2 separate regions of the Homo sapiens genome follow, and region 1 is linked to region 2. Evidence: promoter capture Hi-C in human tissues and cell types (Jung and others, 2019). All regions are on one chromosome and are shown on one strand. Each heading gives the region's core, a stretch centred on a gene start or on the middle of the fragment in contact. The rest is flanking DNA. Distances are from core to core; before and after follow the strand shown.

Region 1 (5,036 bases), core at 544-3,043, 760 kb before region 2:
CAAGAGAATGGAAAGAAAAAATATTTGAAGAAATAAGGGCAATGTTTGCATTTGTCTTGCTCTACCTGGTATTCCTATCAAGGCACCTGGTATATATTAGGTGTTTAATAAACATTTCTTGAACACATTTGCAGCAAAAAAAAATGACAACGAGTAAGAGATAAGCACCTGAGTGTTACTGCAACGTATTTAGGCCATCAGAGGACAAAAAAGGGGAATAATATGGAGAAAAGGCTTGGTAGAAGTGGCATGCCTTCAGCAGGGACCCACGAAATGGGTTCAACTGAGTGTGTACAAAGTTTGGAGACTAGGAAGGGATGAAGAAGGGCATTCCACACAAGAACAACACAAATGAAGATTTGGAGCCTGGCACAGTGGCCCACGCCTGTAATCCCAGCACTTCGGGAGGCCAAAGCAGGAGGACTGCTTGAGCTCAGGAGTTTGAGACCAGCCTGGGCAACATAGCAAGACCCCCATCTCTACTAAAAATTTAAAAATTTGCCAGGCATGGTGGTGCTTGCCTGTAGTCCTCGCTACTGGCAAGACTGAGACAGGAGGCTCTCTTGAGCTGTGATTGCACCACTGCACTCCAGTCTGGACAACAGAGAGAAACTCTGTCTCTAAAACAAACAAAAAGACTTGGAATCAGGAATAAATATGGTTGAAACTATACTATCTGGACTGAAGTGGTGGTTGCACTTAGTGGTAATGAGAAATGAAGTTAGTTGGATGAGTTAGGGTCAGAGTATGCAAGGCTTTAGAAATAGGAAACAGGAGAGAAACCATTGAAAGTTTCTGAACAGAACTTGTGATGATGAAATCAGAATTCAAGGGGAGAAAAAGGAGCATAGTGGTGGCATCCATGATGGATTTGGAGAAGAAAATACTAAAGGTGAATGGAAAGGGTGGACCAGGGGCAAACAGGTTATTAAAACAGTCCCATCATGAAGTGTTGAAATGCTGGATGTAAACACACCTACCACAGTATCAGTACAGACTAAGGGCTTGGATAAATGTTAGTCAAATCCAAGTACTAAAATTCTTCTTGGTTCGCGAAAATTTCAGAAGTGGCTCAAAAATCTGTAATGCATTAAGAATATTATTTGCTTCACAATATTTCATTTACTTAAGATTTTATAAGAATCAGCTGCTTATAAAATTGTTACTTTGTGGTGCACCAAAGCACCTTGTTCTCTCCCTCACCCAGATATGTTTCATGCTCTTTGTACTTTCCACCCCTTAACAGATTTGGAGGGAAGATTCAAGCCGTGGATTTTTAAATTTAAAGCAATGCTGTCACAAATTGAGAACTGACAACATGTCATTACACATTTAATTGCCACCGAATCCCAGAGTTTAAAAATTGTAAGGACCTAAGAGATAGGACCTCTCGTTGTACAGATGCGGAAACTGAGGCTGAGAGAGGGTAAGTGAACAGTCCCAGGTCACAGAGCTGCTAATGGGCAAGGTGGGACTAGAATCCAGGCTTGACTCCTCTACGCTGAGCCAAGGGTTCGAAGCGATTGGGATAAGGGAAGCCTGAGGCAGGGAACGAGAGTCAGGAAAGCAGCTCTTCCCAACCCTAGGAGGCCGGGGGACCTCGTCACCGCGGAAGGAGCGGAGCCAGGCCGACCTAAAAAGCCGCAAGTCCAGGTACCCTTACCCTGATGGCCGCGGCGACACACTCGGCCACCTTCCTGATCTCGCGATACTAGCCGGTACTCACTTTTCCGGCTTCCCCTAGGCCCCGCCCCCCCACCTCAGCCCTTCTGTCGTCATTTCCTGTGGGTCTGTAGGTTAAGGGAGAAGATGGCGGCGCTAGGGGAACCCGTGCGGCTGGAGAGAGGTGAGTGCAGCCGAGGCTCGGCGGAGGTGGGCGGAAGGGTTGGGGGAGTGCTGTGTCGCTGGAGGGGAGGAGGAGTGACCCAGGCTCTGAGATCCGGGCCACGCTGTCCCTTGTGCCGGCGCCAGAGGCCGCCGTTGTCTCTGTGCCTGGCTCTAGGAAGGGCGCTTACGGTATTTTGTCTGTTAACCGTAAGCCCTCCTCTGTTCACACGGACTGTTCCAAGGCACAGCACAACTAAACACAACCTGCCCGCTTCGCAGACACACGCCGCACACGCGCTCCCTTGGTGAGCACAGCAGAAGCAGCATTCGGAGACCCGTACACCCGAAAAGCAAACGTCACACACCCGGTTCGCACAGACTACACTCATTGCCTGTACAGCACGAGAACGGACACACGGTACAATTCAACAGAACCTCCTTTCCCCGCTGTTTGCACACAAACTCCTTCATTACTTTCTCCACAACCTCGCTTGTATTCGGGTTGGGGTATTTGCTAGCTTTTGTGCCCCTCCTAGAAATGGAGAGGTTGCTTTAAAAACAATCCTACTGACTTGGTCTTGGGAAGGAGGTTACGTAAGTAAGCCGAATAGTGGTAGATGCTAAAACACTTGCAGGTGCAGTGTTTTTCATTTCTTACAAACCCTACAATTGCAAACTGGTTGGCTGATTGCTTCCTAGAGCAGACTGTCAAGGAAAATAAAACCACCTCTGCTGAGTAATTAGAGATAGAGAAGCCTACGAAAATAACTGGCTATGCGCCTACCATGATTTCCAGCATTCCAGCGTTTCCAGTCCTTTTACAGATTTCCAGCATTCCACTCTGTCCCTAAGTCCTTTATTTCAAACAATTTCAAGCATGCTTTTCATACACCAGCATTAGAAATCATTGATAGGAATTGAGAAGTACAAATAAACATTTTGAGTACTGGTGGTAAAAAAAAATGTATATGTAGGATGGAGACTGAAATTATATTGCACATATTAACATTTGCAATTAGTCTAAATATTACTATTGTTCCCTAAGAAAACACATTTTTAGAATTACTGTACTTAGAAAAACCTCTTTCCTAATGCCTTCCCACAAACAAATGTGCACTTAATGTTGCTGATTTGCTCTTTACCGTGTTCACCATTTGGAAGCCTCACTGTAAATGAGATTGTTTCCGTTAAGCCTATTAAAGCATCATTTTAGAGGACTAGCTACTCTGGGAAGACTTGCCGAGTTAGGCCTAAGTCTCTGACATCTTCCTCTTGAGCACAGTGGCACTGTGTTTTATAGATGGGAGCAAATCTGTTTGGTGTTAACAGGAGTAAGTTTTTTCTTTGAAAGCTAGTTAAGATTCTAACGTATTGGTCTTTTGTGTTTTTGTTGTTGCTGTTTGGAGACGTAGTCTTGCTCTGTCGCCCAGGCTGGAGTGCAGTGGCGCGATCTCGGCTCACTGCAACCTCTGCCTCCCGGGTTCAAGCAATTCTCCTGCCTCAGCCTCCCGAGTAGCTGGGACTGCAGGCGAACGCCGCCAAACCCGGCTGTTTTTTGTATTTTAGTAGAGACGGGGTTTCACCGTGTTGCCCAGGCTGGTCTCGAACTCTTGAGCTTAGGAAGTCCGCCCGCCTCGGCTTCCCAAAGTGCTAGGATTACAGGCGTGAGCCACTGCACCCGGCCGGTCTTTGTATTTTTAAATGCAACACAAAATGTGGAACTTCTGTGGCATTTAGTTTTGATAGTCTTGGCTTTGTTTTTTGCTGTTACAGATTTCTTTTCTGTTCTTCAGTAGAAGACTCCACCTCTTAGTAGGATGAATTACAGTCAGCCCTCCATATCCATGGGTTCCATATTTCAACCAACTGCAGATTGAAAATACTCAGAAAAAAATCGTGTCTGTATAGAACATGTACAGACATTTTTTTCTTGTCCTTATTCCCTAAACAATGTGATATAACAACTGTTTACGTAGCGTCAGATATTGTAAGTAATCTAGAGATTATTTAAAGTATAGAGGGGGGATATGCATAGGTTTTATGCCAATACTATATCATTTTATATCAGAGACTTGAGCATCTGCAGATCTTGATATCTGTGGTATCTGAAGAAGGTCCTAATGAATCCCCCACTGTTACCAAGACAGCTGTACTAGTGGTTGCCATTTAGCAGGGTAAGAAAGTCAGATTACATCACCTCTGATTCTTGTTTAGAATTCTAACAGACTCTATTAACAAACACTCCCAACGATCCTAAAGTAGAAAATCCTACAGTACAATTACAATACAGTGCCTGATCACATATGATGATTTAGAGTGCCTTCTAAATCATCAAACTATGATTTAATGAAACACAAATTTGAGCACATAGTAGGTACATTTTAGATTTAGTCAAAAGCATTTTACTTTTTTCCATTTTTTTCTTCACTGGAAATTTTTATATGGCTTATATATTATAACTTTATAAATCAAAATAATTGATGAACCAACAGTCCCCATGTATCGGTCATTCTGGTGATGGGAAATCAGAATGGTGAAGGTCTATTTGCTTCCATTGCATTTGATTAACTTTTTAAGTTTAAGCTTTCTTTACCTCAAATTTAAAAATCTGCTTTCTGGCCAGGCGCAGTGGCTCACGCCTGTAATCCCAGCACTTTGGGAGGCCGAGGCAAGCAGATCACTTGAGGTCAGGAGTTTGAGACTAGCCTGGCCAACATGGTGAAACCCTGTCTCTACTAAAAATACAAAAATTAGCTGGGCCTGGTGGCAGGTACCTGTAGTCCCAGCTACTCGGGAGACTGAGGCACGAGAATCACTTGAACCCTGGAGGCAGAGGTTGCAGTGAGCCAAGATCGTACCACTGCACCCCAGCCTCAGCAACAGAGGGAGACTCCATCTCAAATAAATAAATAAATAATCTTTCTGCCAGGTGTGATGGCCCAAGCCTGTAATCCCAGCACCTTGGGAAGCTGAGGTGGGTGGATCATGAAGTCAGGAGTTTGAGGCCAGCCTGACCAACAGGGTGAAACCCTGTCTCTACTAAAAATACAAAAATTAGCCGAGCATGGTGGTGGACTCCTGTAATCCCAGCTACTCAGGAGGCTGAGGCAGGAGACTTGCTTGAACCTGGGAGGCAGAGGTTGCAGTGAGTGGAGATTGCGCCACTGCACTCCAGCCTGGGCAACAGAGTGAGACTCCATCTCAAATAA
Region 2 (5,404 bases), core at 385-2,884:
GTTTTACCAAACTAAGATGACAAAAGCTAGACTAGAATTCAGTCCCCTTTTCAACATTTCACACATCCCAAAAGATACAATATGTACACATACACACATATATATGTGTGTGTGGGTGTTATATGTGTGTGTGTGTGTGTATATGTATATAATATATATAATTGCAATATAATAAAATAAGCATAAATAAAATACATACTATGTAAATAAAGTAAATATATGTATAATGTTACATGTGTATAAATACATACGTAAATATAAACTATCTCCTTTTCCTTTGTCCCTCTCTTGACAAATGCCAAAGAAGACTCAGGCTAAAGCTTTATTCTCTCTTCCTGTCTCATTTTCTGTTGATTCCATTTTATTTCTATTTTGTGTTGATTTGCAGTTGTACTACTCTGAGAATAGTTCTTCATCTTCATTTGTGTTAAAAATCAAGTTTCCGAAAAATTACAAACCCTTTAGACAATCTTTTACCTCCCCTGATTCAACAGCCTGCCTCTAGAGCTGGGGTTCTTAGAAAGCATTCTACACATACGCTGCTTTTTTTCAAACTTTAATTTTACAGAAAAAAAAGGAGTGTATCAGTTTTCTATTGCTGCTGTAAGAACTTCAAGAAACTTAGTGGCTTAGATAATAAATTTATTATCTCACAATTCTCTAGGTCAAAAGTCTGAAATTGGTCCCACTAAGCTAAAATCAGCATGTCGCAGGTCACATTCCTTCTAGAGGCTCCAGGGAAGAATCTATTTCCTTGCCTTTTCCAACTTCTAGAGCCAATCTGTATTCCTTGGCTAGTGGGCCCTTTCTCCATCTTCAAAGCCACTGATGTCAGGCTAAGTCCTTCCCATGTCACCATCTCTCCTTTTCTCCCTGTTCTGCGTACCTCTTCTGCTTTTATAAGGACTCCAGTGATTCCATAAAGCCCTCTGGGATAATCTAGGATAATTTGCCTATCTCCAGTTTAATTTACCATCTTAATTCCATCAGCAATCTTAATTACTCTTTGCCATGCACCTTAACATATTCACATAGAATGTGGACATTTTTAGGGGGCTACTATTTTGGCTACCACAATGATGAGTTAAACAAGGCTCACAAGAATTAGTACAATGAAACTTATATTGTCTTTAATTATGACATCATGACATTTCTCTCAATATATCTATATTTATTGCTACACATAGATGAATACCATAATAATTATTTATGAAATTTTAAACAAATGACAGGCATTATGACCCTTCATACTTCAGAAAGTAGCTTCTAAGAACAAGGATATTCATTTATAATCGCAATGCAACTAGCAAGTTTAGGAAATTATCAATGATACAATACTATCATCTAATATACATATTTCAATAGTTCTTCCCAAACTATCCTTCACAGAAAAAAAAAATCCCACCCAGGATCAGTCATTGCATTTTGTTTTCATTCTTCTTCAATCTCCTTTCTCTGCTATGAAACTGACATTTTTGAAGAGTATAGGACAGTTTCTACAGGAAGTCCCTCAATGTGGGATTTTCTGATTTTTTTTTCCTCATGATGAGATTCAGGTGATGCATTTTTGGCAGAAATACCACATGAATGATGCTGTGTCATTTTAGTGCACTCCATCATGGGGCATGCATCTGGTATCAGGTTGGCCTGTAACGAATTGGTAATGTTAGCTTTGATTACTTGACTAGTGGTGTTTACCAAGTTTTTACACTGTATAGTTGTCATTTTTTTATTCATAAGTAATTAATAATCTGTGGTGAGACATTCTGAGACCAGAGAAATATTCTAATCCTGAGTCCATCAAAATTTCACCCATTGCTTTTAGCATACACTGTTGATTCTTGCCTCAGTTATTAGTAATAGCAATGGAAAAACGGGAATTAAAAAACCCAAATTCATTCTTTTTGACAGTGTTTATGGAAATACTTCCTCATGACCATATTGAATTATAGTTTATGGTAACTGAGCAAAGCCCATGAATATCTTCATCTCTCTAGAGTGTTGGGGACTCTGATTGTATTACAAATTTGATTCAGTATTATCTTGAAATGCTTGAGTGGAAGTCAGGCCATTAGAGTTTCTGGAGTTTCTTAGGTCTTTCATTTTACTAATTCTAAAACATATGGCCTCTGGCTGAGTACTTGATAATTGTTTGGAGTGATTGAGGCTCAATAAGTTTCTACTAATTTTATAATATCTCTCAATGCTGGGCTTACTAACATGGCAGACCCAAGAGATGATGCAATATCATGCCTGTCATTAAGAAACACATAATCTAGTTAGAGAAAATGATAAAAAAAAAAAAAAACAAGTATAGTTAGGAACAGTCTCTGAGATTCAGAACCTTTGTGAAAGAACTGTAGATTAATTGAGTCTTTAAAATTGAATAGGATTTTAATTGGAGGAGAAAACTAGGCTGGTGTTCAAGGTAATAGAAACTGCATAAACTACATGTGGAAGCAGAAAAGAAGACAGCACTGCTGGAGAAAAATTAGGGCAACTACTGAAGAGGAAGATTCATGTTGAAAATTAAAGAGAGGAATTATTTGTAGAAGTAAGATGATGCTAGCTACTGAAAGTTGTTGAAGTTTTAGACGAGATGTTTCACCTTAAAATGACAGATAGAGGTTCTTGAGCAAGATGAAAATGGTATTTTAAGAAAATTACACTGTATAGGTGTGCAGGATGGATTAGAATGGATGGGCACCTGCGGTAGAGAGATTGGTTAACAGGCACTGCAAAATGCTTTGTAAATTAGAATGCATGATGCAAAGGCTTATGAATGTGAGAGAAAGAACCATAATGAATGCCCTTGGGATGCAGAAGGTGGGGTGAGTTTAAGAGATTTCAGAGTAAGAGTCAAAGTAAGTTAGAAGGATATCTCAGCCTAACAGCTGAGGTTCACATCCAGTCTACTTCTGGCTCCTGGCAGACAGTAAGCACACACCATAACTTGGTTGTGTCTATTTTTAAAAAGGATGAAATTTGTATATGGGATAATTACTCAGGATTTCAGGATCTTCACATTGACTGTCCATGTATTATATTCCACCTTGTTCTAGAAAGAATTTCAGAAGGCTTATTAAGTGATTTGTGCAGCACAATAAAATATTGTAAATTAGCCTAGGTTAAATGTGGGCAAAGAAATAAAGAAAAACTGTAAAGGAGTGGATCTGAGACAGAAACATTTAAAAAGTCTAATTCTTCAAACTACAATAAGCAACACATTTAATATGGGTGTGAGCCAGAAATTTTGGTCTAAACTTTCTGGCAGTAATGTCAAAAGTGAACAACCTGACTATTAAGCCACAGCATCATGCAACAAAACCAGATGGATTACTAGATAAACTTTTAAGTAATCTTGGATTACTTAATTGAGAGGATAACGTCTTAATTGCATGTGTTTCAGGTGAAAATTATTTTTCTCTGCAACAAAATTCTCTCTCTCTTTCTTGACACCCTCCACCCCCACCCCATTAGACACAGATGCACACACAGAAAGAAATACCAAAGCTAATAGTAACTGAAGAATAGCTAATGTCCACATTTTCCCATATCAGGTAGTTTTGATGGATAATTTAACATTCCTTCCTCTGCCAAAAATAATTCCAGACAATATTCCCTTGATATACAAATATACAATTGATTATTTTGCACTTATTTTAGTGATGGGCTTGATAAAATTAAGAATTTATAGATAGGGTGATTAGGAGAAGAGAAGTGAGACAGAACAAAAATGAAATTTTCTTTTAGATTTTTACTATGATATAAAAACTTGTGAGCCAGTGTTTGACCTTGATTGTAATAAAGCTACATCATGAAGCTTAACTGAATCTGTTATAAGAAGTTACCTAAATTTGTCATGCAGATAATATTGTGTATCTAAGGAAATATTAGAAAACTCATGCAAGTCAAATGTGTAGGAAATCAAGTGCTGATGGAAATAACATTTAGAAATAAGAACACAATGTCATTTACAGTAAAGTATAATGAGCTGCTAAATTAGGTACTGTGGTCTCAAAAGAGCAAAGTATTTTTGAACAAACCCAAGCCAAAGTAAGTTCTCCAAATGAGAAAGGCTCATTAAAGTAAGATGTTTGGGCTCCATATTTCTGTCATAATGATAATCAGGTACTCCATAATAAGGCGTTGGTGGATTACTGCTTTTATAGGCAAAGCCACTACAAAGTCTTGGCATGTTTCATTTTTGTTACATCCCAGCCATCAATCACAACCGACTCTATACAGCTTCTAAAATAGAAAGAACATTTCATTTAGCAAGGGAGAATTTTATGGGGCTTATTAAATAATACCCTTGTGAGCAAACAGAGATAAAGAAATTACCTTAATTACAGTTTGAAATTTGAATGGAGAAACAAACACACATATTGGACAACATAAAAACACATTCGTTATATGACAATTGGAAGAAAGCTTGTGTCCAAGAAAATAATAAGTCCTAATGAAAAGGTCATGAGCTTTGGAATTATATAAATCTGGATTTGTGTTAAGTGTATGATCTTGGGAAAGTAGAACAACTTTCTCGGTCTCAATTTTCTCACCTGTAAAATAAGAAGAGCAATACCTATTTTTCAGAGTGGATAGAAAAAATAAGGAGATACACTGATTAACATACCTTGCACATGGCCAAGGCATATAGAAGAGTCAATACATAATGACAACTTTTTGATTTAAGGTATTTTTTGACATTCTGCATAAAGGTATAGTCCTTATTTTTAGAAATACAGAGTCTAATAGAAAGATGTGCAACACGCAGCGATACATTTTTGACTGAAGCTCTAGAGTCTGAGATGAAGATAAAGGGTGAATGAATTTAAATAGTTGTAACAATAACAATAACAGATACTATACGTTGAGTACTTATTATGTACCCAGTCACAATGCTAAAAGCTTTAATACACTATTTAATTTTATTCTGTGAATATCTTGTTTTACATGGAGAACCTCAGAAAAGCTAAAATATTAGATAAGTAGAAAGTGAATTCCATTCCTCAGAGGGAAATTATATAAGGTAACTTAAGAAGCTTTCAACTTCAAGTAACAAAAGGTAAATTCAAATTCTGTAGTTTATTGATTCACATAATTGAAATGTCCAAAACTAGGGTAGGTCTAGTTGATATTTGGCCCTGCAATTTATTATCTTAAGAACCAGTTATCATTTAGTTCCTGCTCTGTCTTCCAAAGATTTGCTGATTGAACAATTTAAATTGTGTGCTTATCCATTATCAATTATATGGGCTTAAGAAACATGAAGTGCCAACTCCTTTAAAGCAGACTTAATGTATGCCCTTGTGAACTAGTCAGTATAGCCAGAAAGTAGGATGAAATTATGCTTATTGGTGAGGGCCTACAAGGCCTTCTTCTCGCTCAGGAGATGTGGATA

Evidence for each region. The method cuts DNA at HindIII sites, captures the fragments that hold promoters and counts their contacts. A contact is called where the count stands out against the background at its distance.
Region 1: a contact is called between the fragment with the promoter of LIN7C here and a fragment that was not itself captured in region 2, in 1 of the 25 tissues and cell types used here (heart right ventricle).

What each region holds. Positions count from the first base shown.
Region 1 is chr11:27,503,526-27,508,561 of GRCh38, reverse strand. LIN7C (lin-7 cell polarity scaffold C) reads left to right here and starts at 1,793. Exons shown (of 5, transcript NM_018362.4): 1 at 1,793-1,846. The coding sequence starts at 1,810. It overlaps BDNF-AS (BDNF antisense RNA), which reads right to left and starts at 1,710. Exons shown (of 7, transcript NR_033315.1): 1 at 1,664-1,710. RefSeq lists enhancers at 1,387-1,676, 1,747-1,876, 1,033-2,232. The HindIII fragment of the contact is 14,064 bases long and covers 1-5,036 here.
Region 2 is chr11:26,746,962-26,752,365 of GRCh38, reverse strand. No RefSeq gene overlaps it. Among named protein-coding and RNA genes, the nearest start is that of SLC5A12, 28 kb to the right of the region's middle. The HindIII fragment of the contact is 6,078 bases long and covers 1-4,673 here.